Regions from separate parts of the Homo sapiens genome. Here all the other regions are linked to region 1. The links are contacts of gene promoters, found by promoter capture Hi-C in blood cells and fetal thymus (Javierre and others, 2016). All regions are on one chromosome and are shown on one strand. The core of a region is centred on a gene start or on the middle of the fragment in contact, and the rest is flanking DNA. Distances in the headings are between cores, read along the strand shown. Region 1 holds the start of ABCC3 (ATP binding cassette subfamily C member 3). Region 2 overlaps SPAG9 (sperm associated antigen 9). Region 3 has its middle 88 kb from the start of TOB1-AS1.

Region 1 (3,518 bases), core at 1,019-3,518:
TAAGGGCCCCCACCACGCCCTCAGAGTGCCCAACCCAGTGCTATAGCCTTGGGAAAGCAATAGCGATAGAAAAGCCTGGGGCTGCAAGGGATGGTGCTTCAGCTCCGATGCTGAAGCCAGAACCCAAGGGTCCTAGCCCAAAACTAGAGCTCCAGCCAGTGCACTGCCTGGCCAACTGTGGGGCTGGAAAGTCCCGGACGGAAGCTCAGGCTAGTTCTGGGCTCTCCATCTCAGAAAGGAGGTCTGATTGGGGAGCTCACCTCCCAAAGGGCCCTAAAGGAAAGTCCCCAGGTCTCCTCAAGCCCAGAGCAATCTGGTGCCTATGACCCCACAAGCCCTAGAAAAGGAATGGGAGAGGAGGGAGAGTTGGAGGAAGCCGGTGGGTAGACAAGGTCAAAACACAGGGGCAGTGGGTGCTGATGAAGCCATGACCAGGGTCATGGAAGGGGTGGAGGAAGGTTCCCAGCTGCCTAGGCCATAGAAGCCTGGCCCACCAGGGCTGGAAGAGAGCTTAGATATCACCCTGTCCACGTTTCTCAAGAAATGAAGTCCCAGAGGCATCAAGGAGCTTATTGAGATCACACAGTGTATAAAAGGTATGGAGGGGGATTGGAGGGGACTGAGTTAGTCCCTGCCCTTGGGGACCTCTCAGATTAGCAGGGAAGACAGACTCTTCATAACTAAATATAATCCAAGGCACGCCGTAACAAGGTGTAAAGCTCTGTAAAGTATTTTGCCCAGAGATGAAGGTAGGGGGACAGGAGAGGGAGGGTATGTGTGGATGAGTGGAAAGGAAGAGGGCAGACAAAGAAGGGGCTGAAAGAACTTGCCCAGTGGAGGGGTAGAAGTCCCTGGTCTGACTGCCTGGGAAAGGGGAATCTTCTCCACTCCCACCCCTATCCCATGCCCAGCCAGATCTTGGTTCTGATAGCCTATAGCCAAGGAGACTTCCCTTCTAGTGACCTCCTGGCTGCCCAGAGAGATAGGAGGTGGCTTGCCCCTTCTGCACTCTTACTGGCTCCCACCCACACCTGCCGCTGAGCAGCCAAGGAAGGAAACACCTTCTCTTGAGAACAAGGGCCAGAAAAGGGGTCACCGGGGTGAAACTGGACAGACCTGTGGGCAAAGGCAGGGAAGAGAAGGGCCAGGGAAAGATTTGCCAGGGAGAATTCCTTCTGAGCCCCAACAAGCGGTGCTGAGTTGGCGTCTGGGATTGTGTTAAGGAAGACAGGGCAACAGCGGGATTGAGAGATGGAGGGATCCCCGCATCTGAGGGGATACCGGGAGAAGGAGAGCTGAGGCAAGCAGGAGAAGGAGAGCACTGACAAGCCCATTTTACAGATCAGGAATGTAGAGTTTCAGCCTTAGGAGGAGGACGAGGACGAGGACACTCACGTGGGGCTCCTCCTGGGGCTTCACCTGTCCTTCCCCCCCCAACCCTGATCAGGCTGAAGCAGAGGGAATTCACACATGTTGGGTGCCCACTAAGTGTGCCAGGAAATACGCTTTGCCTACCCTTTCCATTCAATCCTCAGAGAACCCTGGGAGGAAGATTCTCTTCTATGATTGTCTCTATTTTACGGATGTGAAAGTAGAGGCCCAGAGACGTGCCGAGGTGATGTGGCAAGGTCAGGGAGCCACAGAGCCTAAGAGGGCAGCAGTTTAAGAGGACATAAGAGGCCCCCGCTGGACGATGCTGCGGCCCCCACCCCCGCCTCACGGGTACACACCCGCGGAGCACACCCCGTGTGCTCCCCGTGTGGCGCCTGCCAGTGGTCTCTGGAACCTGATGGGGAAGAGGTCAGCTTCCTGATTGAGCACAGAAGCCCTTCCCATTTTACAGATGAGGAAACTGACCTCCGGAGAGGAACGTGACCTTCTCAAAGATTCCTTTTTTACTAGGAAAGATTGTTAAATCCCTCTCCCTACGTCCCCTACTCAATGACTCATCGGCCCCACGGACTTGTTCGGGAGTGGGAGCGCCTGTGTATCCCAGTTCCCCCTTGGAAATAGACTCGACTCCTGGACTGTTAGCCTCGGTATTTAGAGAGACATCCCCCTGGCTTGGCCCAGGGGCCGCTCGCAGGGGCTGTCGCCGTGCCAAGGGCCCCCCCACCTCTGCCCCAAAGTCCCTCCCAGGGAGGCGCTGTCGCAACCCGCGGGACGGGGGCAGGGAGACCGGACCCAGAGGCACTGGGGTAGGGCTCGGCAGGGCGGGTCCGGGCGGAGCGCGGGGTGCGGAGGGCGGAGGCGGCTCCGGCGCCCGCTCTGCCCGCCGCTGGGTCCGACCGCGCTCGCCTTCCTTGCAGCCGCGCCTCGGCCCCATGGACGCCCTGTGCGGTTCCGGGGAGCTCGGCTCCAAGTTCTGGGTAAGGCGCGGGGCTCCGGGGTCACTGCGCGGGGGCCAGGGTCGGCCGGCTTCGCCCGGTCCCCGCCGCCTGCCTTCCCGCGGGGCCGGCAGGTATCCCGGGACGGAGCCCCTGAGACGGCCTGGGCGCCCGGGAGGGGGCGATGGGCTCGGGAGGGAGGTTGGCTGCGCCGCCCGGAGCCGGGTCCCACGCGGTGTCGGGGACCTGCCCTGCTCTGCCCTTCCCGGCTGCAGCACTGGGGAGCCCGGGAAAGTGAGGAAGAGTGCGCGGCTGGGGCGCAAAGGCACAGTGCGTGGCTGGGTGAGTCGGCTCCATCCCAGCCCCTCCGTCGGGTGCGGAAGGGGCGTTTCGCAATCAGCCGCGGGTTCCTGATGGAGGGTCTTCCCTCAGCATCTGCCTCAGGTTAGGACTCGGTTGCCCACCTGGGCATGGATTGCCCCCAGGGCATCCAGAGCACCTGCTCAACCAGGTGTTTTGGGAGGCCGGCTGTGCAGTGTCCCACCCTTCTTAGGAAGGTTTCCTGCCACCTTCTTTTCTCTAGGTAAGACTGAGGTCTGAGAGCAGGCCATCCCCACCACTCCGGACTCAGAAGGGAGAAGCAGACCCCAGTCTGGAGACAGGTGCAGGGTGTCAGGATTCCTGTAGTCCAACTCCCTTCTCACAGATGGAGAAAGGGAGGCCCAGAGAGAGGAAGGGACTTGCCCAAAGTTACCCAGTTCAATGAAGGCAGAGCTGGGATAGAAAAACAGGCTACAGGCCAGGTGCAGTGGTTCACGCCTGTAATCCCACCCTTTGGGAGGCAGAGGTGGGAGGATCACTTCAGCCCAGGAGTTTTAGATTACTGTGAGCTATGATCGCACCACTGCACTGTGGCCTGGGCGAAAGAGTGAGACCCTGTCTCTAAAAAAATAAATAAATAAGAAAAGAAAATCAAGCCTTTGGTGACTCTCACTCCAAATCTCTTTCTAAGACAGGCTGCTCTTCAGCCTGCTGACTCCAGCCTCCAGCACAGTTCAGGTGAGCTAAGTGCATACAGCCTAGGAGCTTTCTTACCAACTTGCAAAACTTACTTGCCTCTATGAGGCAAGTGATCATGTGGTCTCCGTTTTACAGAGGGAGCTCAGATTAAAGGTGCTTCTCTGTGGTCAT
Region 2 (3,518 bases), core at 372-2,871, 340 kb after region 1:
CGCGATCTCGGCTCACTGCAACCTTCGCCTCTGGGGTTCAAACAATTCTCTTGCCTCAGCCTCCCAAGTAGTTGCGATTACAGGTGCCTGCCACAACGCCCGGCTAATTTTTGTATTTTAGTAGAGATGGGGTTTCACCAAGTTGGTCAGGCTGGTCTCAAACTCCTGACCTCAAGTGATCCACCCACCTAGGCCTCCCAAAGTGCTGGGATTACAGGCATGAGACACTGTGCCTGGTCTCTTAAAAATTTTTAATGAAGTCTTGCTATGTTTGCCCAGGCTGGTCTCAAACTCCTGGGCTCAAGTGATCCTCCTGCCTTGATTTCCAAGTTGTGGAATTACAGGTGTGAGCCACCATGCACAGCCTACCTGCTTCAAACTATTATAGTCTAAATCTTTTGATCTGAGAAGACAGTGGAAAAGGTCTCTCCCTTGAAAAGGAATGTGCTTATTTGTGTAAGAGACTGAGAAAAGTCTTCAACTTAAGCCCTATGAGTTTGCATAGTCATAATTAACATTTAAATTTATTTCAAATCTATGGCTTTCCTCTCATATTTAAGGAAAATACAGGTTATTTTTAATTTAGATTATGCAAACAAAATTACTAGTAAATGTGCTGTTTGTTCTAAAGCTTAAGTTCTAAGGTAGAATCCTTGAGTGTGAAATAATAGAAAGAGAGAAACCTTTAAATATTATTCACAACTATGAACAAATGAGCAATCTCTAAGCCAACCCTCTTAGCAAGATTTAATTGTGGGATATTTTTTTCCTTGTCAGAATCTGCTGTCCTTTGGTCAAACTACACAGACTGCGCCTCCAGGAGCTAGCTGGACAGCCATTAATGCGACACACTGTAACAAAATTAATGTATGTTGAAAGTGGATAGGATAGTCTGACGTATCCCCACAGGGATTCATTCATGCATTACTCAATTATACTTTGGAAGAAATCAAGCATGCCAGCAATGACTTCTGTTGGTAGACGAGTTAGTTCTGCCACAGAAGCAAGAGCACAGTGGTATTACTGATAAGGCCAACCAGAATGGTTTAATCTTTAGGGCCAACTGGCCTCGCAACAACCATGTTGCTAATTCCACTTTTAGATTTATACCCAACAAAAAATCCTTACACATGCACACAAGAAGGTCTGCTTCAGTATTGTTTTTAATAGTGAAAAAAGAAAGGGGAGAAGCCTAGAGGTCCATCAACAGAAGAATGAATAAAATGTAGCACTTTTATTCAGTTATAATACCAGTTAAATGAATAAACTAGATTTTTATGTATGAACATTGATAAATCTCAAAAAATGAGAAGCAAGTTGTAGAAGCATACATATAAAACACAACATTTAACATGTAAAGTCCAAAACCACAAAACAATCATACATTGTTTATAAACACATTCAAACATAGTAAAAATACAAAAACAGGGGCAAGAGGATTTGCATCGACTTCAAGATAGTGGTTACCAATGGAGAGGAAAAGGAGAGGAGAATGGGATTGGAGAGGGATACAAAGGAGATTTAAAGGAAACTGTGATATTTCATTTTTTTTTAAGCAAGAGAAACACTGTTACCAGCAATCCCATTTCTAGGAAGGAAATGACTATACAAATATATAAAATGTACAAATGAGGTTTCAGAAAGCTCATTATCACTGTTGTTAAGAATAACTGAATAATTGCTTAGGGTACCATATGCCAGCCCTTGCCCCATGTACATAAAATCATTTAATCTTTGGAAGACCCTTGGGAAAATAAGTATGATGAGTAATTTGACGTGTTAGCTCGATACCCAGATATTTGGTCAAACACCAGTCTAGATATCATTGTAAGTCTTTTTTAGATGTGATTAACATTTAAAACAACAGACTTTGAGTAAAGCAGATTACACGCCACAGTGTGGGTGGGCCTCATTTAACCAGTTGAAAGCCTTAGAAGAAAAAGACTGAGGGATCCAGAGGAAAGAGAAATGTTGCCTCCAGACTGCTTTCAGATTTGGACTGCAACATCCACTCTTCCCGGGGTCTCCAGCCTGCCAGCCTGCCCTGCAGATTTCAGACCTGCTAGTCCCCACAACTGTGTGACCCAATTTCTTAACAGTAACTCTCTCTTCATACGCACATACACATGCATCCTATTGGTTCTGTTTCTCTGAAGAACCCTGACTAATATACTACATCACACAGTTAGTTGGTGGGGGAAAGTCAGATCTGAACTTCGTCTAGCTCCTAAACTTGCCTCTTATGGGAAAAAAAAATTCAAAACCTGTGTCCTGCTTACAGATGGTCAGTGACATCACTTAAGTATTGTCAATGGATAATTTGTCATTTTTCACTGGACATCATCACTTCCATCTTTTTTCTGGGTGGTGCTTTATAGCTCCCAGTAGCATTTTCATTAATTTTCATAACAAATGAAGTAGGCAGAGCAGATATTAATCACATCCACCTAGGAGTGAGGAAATGAGTCTCTGAGGTTAAGTGCCTTGCTCGAGGTTAGTGGCAGAGACACAGGGGCCAGACCCCCAGGCCTCCTAGTTCACTGCTTTTTCCTATTAAGCTGCTAAAGGTACCAGAGTGCATTCTCTCTTCCTCCATGCAGCCTTGATGATAGAAGCTTCTTTCTAGTGATTTCTCTTATTAGGTCAAGACCATTTTTGGCAATCCACGATGATAAAATAATACTACTGCTTTTCAAAAGTAAGCAAGTCTCCTAAAGAAAAATCAACAAATTTATCTTTGGGGGTGGGAGAGATATTCCAAAGTAACTTCATTCAAGTATCCCTATAGCACCTTAGTCACACCTCCATTACAGAACTTCCTTCGTATATATTGAAATTACCTGCAATTCGAGTACTTAGCCTTAGACTATTAGGTAGTGGAACCAAGAGATGACAGAAGAGAGACAATTACATGGAACATCTCAACAGAATAATCTAACATACCTGGGACTGCCACAAAGAATTTCACAGCATCCCGGTGCCCATGGAAGCAAAGCTGTGCATGTGCCATTGAACAATAGGGTATAAATGTCCCTGGAGTCACTTTATCACTGTTTTCATCACCATATACACGGATTACACTTCCAGGACGATTTCCTGGTACACCTGAGGTTTTATTTGCTGCAACAGAAAAACCAAATACCAAATATTTTCCCCTAGAAAACAGTAATGAATGTAAGAGGTTACTGGTTAATCCTTATGATATTATCTAAAAGCTACAGCCAGTTGAGATAAAACAAGGATGGCAATGCCAATTCAAGACAAAGCTGGGAAAAAAAGAGATACAGCATGCTAGTTATTTTTAAGTACCTCAGTAAATGGAGTAGGGGATTTTGCCAGTCTAGCAATAAGTAAGCTTATTTTTTAAACACATCTATTCATTTAAAAAATAATTTTAGTTAAAAAAAAAACAAATTTGAATCTTAGTTGTTTCTTGTTTTGTTTTTAATGCACATGTTAGAAAACTAACCATTATACAGTTTAAAGTAAATGGGTATATTTGCAAATAAAGTCTTTCT
Region 3 (3,518 bases), core at 644-3,143, 320 kb after region 1:
TCAGATTTCAAAAAGGATTTTACTCCCAAAAAGGCAATAGGAAGAAAAGCAAGTGGGCTGGGCGTGGTGGCTCATGCCTATAATCCCAGCACTTTGGGAGGCCGAGGCAGGTGGATCACCTGAGGTCAGGAGTTCGAGACCAGCCTGGCCAACATGGTGAAACCCCACCTCTACTAAAAATACAAAAATTAGCCAGGCATGGTGGCACGAGCCTGTAACCCCAGCTGCTTGGGAGGCTAAGGCAGGAGAATCACTTGAACCTGGGAGGCAGAGGTTGCAGTGAGCTGAGATCATGCCACTGCACTCCAGCCTGGGCAACACAGTGAGACTCTGTCTCACAAAAAAAAAAAAAAAGAAAAGAAAAGCAAGTGGACAGGCTTTAGAATTGGATGATCCAGGTTCAAACAAGGGCCCATCCTGGAGTCCTTGGCACTTACTGTCTACGACAATGGTTCTCAAGTAGGGACGATTTTGCCCCCTAGGAACATGTCTGGAGAAATTGGGTATGCTACCGGCATTTAGTGGGCAGAGGCCAAGGATGCTGCTATGTATCCTATAATGCACAGGGCAGGCCACACAGCAAAGAAGCACCCAGCCTCACATGTCAGTACTAGTGAGGTTGAGAACCGCTGGTTGAGGTGTCCTGTCAAATGGGGAAATCTGTGCCCCACAGCCGCCTTGGGGATTAAGGCAGGCAATGGATGAGGAACCCAGGACTGGGCCCAGCACACACTCCACAGTTGCATGGGATTCTCCTCTCCTAAGGACTTTTTGGCCTGGGACATGGTAGCTAGCGGGCAGAGGTGGAGTAGGCACATATTTTGGCTTTCACGAGAGAACTTTCTGAAATGATCTTGATGCTCCTGTCCCACCCAGCTCATGGCACAGTTTCTCTAGAACAATCCCATGCTCATTTATCAACAAGGAAAACCCAGGCATGGTGGCTCACACCTGTAATCCCAGCACTTTGGGAATCTGAGATAGGAGGATCACTTGAGCTCAGGAGTTCGAGACCAGCCTGGGCAACATGGCGAAACACTGATTCTGCAAAAAATAAAAAAAAAATTAGCTGGGTGTGGTGGTGTGTGCCTGTAGTCCCAGCTGCCCGGAGGGCTGATGTAGGTGGATAGCTCCAGCCTGGGAGGTTGAGGCTGCAGTGAACTATGATTGTGTCACTGCACTCCAGCCTGGGCGACAGAGGGGAGACCCTGTCCCAAGAAACAAAAAAAAAAAAAGAAAGAAAGAAAGAAAGAAAGAAAAAGTGGGCTCTGGAAGGAGCCAGCCACCGTTGCCCTCTGGGCACTCACCATCTCACCCCTCAGGCTCCAACAGGGTTCCACGTGACCAATCCCCGAGGGGAGAGGAGACTGCGGAGAGGATGGGAGGCAAAGCACCTCCTTCAAGCTCCAGGGAGGCAGGAGGATTTGTTTAGGAGTGGCCCTGTGCAGAGGTAGGGGCATGGCTGAGAACACCTTGGGAGGTGGTGTGAAGCTGAGTCCAGGAGCCGCCAGCCCTCCCTGCCACTCAGCTCAGGGGTCACTTGGGTAGCTTCAGCCTCAACAGCCGTGGAGTCAAGTGTCTCCTCTACAAAAATAATTCCCAAATAAGTCACTGCCTTCACCCCTGGGACTGGCTGGTGCACCCAAATTGGAGTCGCCACCCAGCCCCCTTGAGCATTGCCTTGCTGGCTGATCCAACAGAGGCAGAATTAGCTGATGAGGCTACCACAGCGGGAGGGAACTGACCTGAGGCCGCCTGGAGAGATGGGACCCCGAGGGCCCTTTCTGGCACTACTCACTTGTTGGGTCTGGGGAATTAAAACACACTCCCCCTCTCTGGGTCTCAGTTTAACAGGGAGGAGACCACCACCTTCCAAACCTCAGTGACGGCATCAGGCTGGGGGTGGTGCTGGGCCTCCTGCGTCTGTGTCTGGAGACGCAGCTGACTCCCTGACAAGCCCAGACATGCAGCTGTTCCTGCAGAGGAAGCAGCAGGAACTGGGGAAGGGCAGAGCGCTGAGGGAGGGGCAAGAGGGATGCAAGGACACCACAGTGACCGCGTGCAGCGAAGCGAGTATGAGCAGAGTCCCAATCTCCAGGTCCCCTCTCCGCGGAAGCACTTTTGTCTTTATTGGAAATTTCCTCCCATGTAACATCTGACCTCTACCTTCTCTTCTACAGATGAGCTCTGCTGTGAGTCCCAGCGGGCTGAGACACTGTGACTGCCCACCTGTCCCCAGGTGCCCCTTCTATACAGCCCCATCCCTTCCCAGGGATGCTCAGTGGCTGCGGCCACCCTTGCTTTCTGCCACTCAGCCCTTGCAGGGGCTTCACACCCCAAGAGGGGCAGTCTGGGCTGGGGCTCCTGGACTCCCTAAGGCATTATCCCATCCCCGCAAGTTGCCCGGCCGGGCCCTGAAGGAAAGGGGCCCCGGACCCAGACCCGAAGGCTGCTCACCAGAGGCTCTGCCCAGGGACTCTCACCTCTCCAGCCACTCCAACTCCCCTCCGGCTTTCCTGTCATTTCCTGATGCCACAAATCTTCTGACATCCTCCCTCTTCCCCAGTGAATTTCTTCCCCAGGCCCTTCCCTTCCTCAACCTGCTTCATACTGGACATTCCCAGCTGGTAGGATCTGCCTGTGGCTCTGCACAGGAGGCTGGGCAAGGGTGGAGAAGACTGGGGGAGCTGTCTCCCATGACCCCAGCAGAGGCGAGAGACAGAAGCTGCATCTGGGACCTGTCGGCTGCAGTTTTGGGCATTCATACCCACCTAAGCATTCTGGAACAGCCCTGAACCTGGGCATCAAACTCCCCAGGCTTGAGAATGGTGAACACTACTATTAGGCGCCCCTTCCTCCAGGCCTATGCCGACTCCCCTGTGCCCATGGAAGCTGTGTAGTCCATGCTGGCTCTGGCTCATGTGGGTGTCCGGACAGTGAGGCCGAGGCGGCAAGGGCCCTTTACTCTGTGCACTCCCAGCTCCCCATCCCAGCCAGGGCAGCCTTGACCCTCCTGCCCCCTTGCTGTGCCATGTGTCAGTTGGCTGGGATCATGCTCTTCCCCCGTCTCCATCAAGAGGATCCAACAGCATCTTGCAGCTAACACTGGGGCATGGGAGTGAGGGAAACAAACATGGTACCCACTCTTCTGTCCTAATGTTTAGAATCATGGGGCAGAAAAGCATCCTAGAACTCATCTAGCCCAACTGTCATTTTACAGAAAACAGGACAGAGAGAAAATGACCAGCCTAAAGCTCTTGGCTACTCAGGGCAGCTGGGACAGGGGTCTGGTTTCCCGGCATGGAGCCACAGTGTCTGGATGTGCTGGAACTCGGCACGTCCCCCTGAGAGTTAGCTGCAGAGGTGGCGTATGGGAGAGGAGGCTGGAAAATAGGCTTGGAGGTTTCGTCCAGGCACACAGATTCTCTCCCCCTAATCCTCAGCCCCTCCTTTTCTCCCTTTCAGCAGCAGTTATAAAATCCAGGAAATAAATGTGGATTGATGGCCTACAAAGGGCT

The links. Contacts are between HindIII fragments. The CHiCAGO score rates a contact against its expected background, and 5 or more counts as called.
Region 2: a fragment that was not itself captured here is called in contact with the fragment with the promoter of ABCC3 in region 1 in 1 of 17 cell types (naive CD8 T cells); the score reaches 5.7 in naive CD8 T cells.
Region 3: a contact is called between a fragment that was not itself captured here and the fragment with the promoter of ABCC3 in region 1, in 2 of 17 cell types (total B cells and naive CD4 T cells). The highest score is 5.7, in total B cells.

Annotation. Positions count from the first base shown.
Region 1 is chr17:50,632,613-50,636,130 of GRCh38, forward strand. It overlaps ABCC3 (ATP binding cassette subfamily C member 3), which reads left to right and starts at 2,269. Exons shown (of 31, transcript NM_003786.4): 1 at 2,269-2,369. The coding sequence starts at 2,325. RefSeq lists a silencer at 2,239-2,288. The HindIII fragment of the contact is 5,138 bases long and covers 1-3,518 here.
Region 2 is chr17:50,971,828-50,975,345 of GRCh38, forward strand. It overlaps SPAG9 (sperm associated antigen 9), which reads right to left. Exons shown (of 30, transcript NM_001130528.3): 28 at 2,944-3,120. Among named protein-coding and RNA genes, the nearest start is that of TOB1-AS1, 110 kb to the left of the region's middle. The HindIII fragment of the contact is 1,984 bases long and covers 630-2,613 here.
Region 3 is chr17:50,952,470-50,955,987 of GRCh38, forward strand. No RefSeq gene overlaps it. Among named protein-coding and RNA genes, the nearest start is that of TOB1-AS1, 88 kb to the left of the region's middle. RefSeq lists enhancers at 1,413-2,612, 1,424-2,104, 2,105-2,785. The HindIII fragment of the contact is 9,104 bases long and covers 1-3,518 here.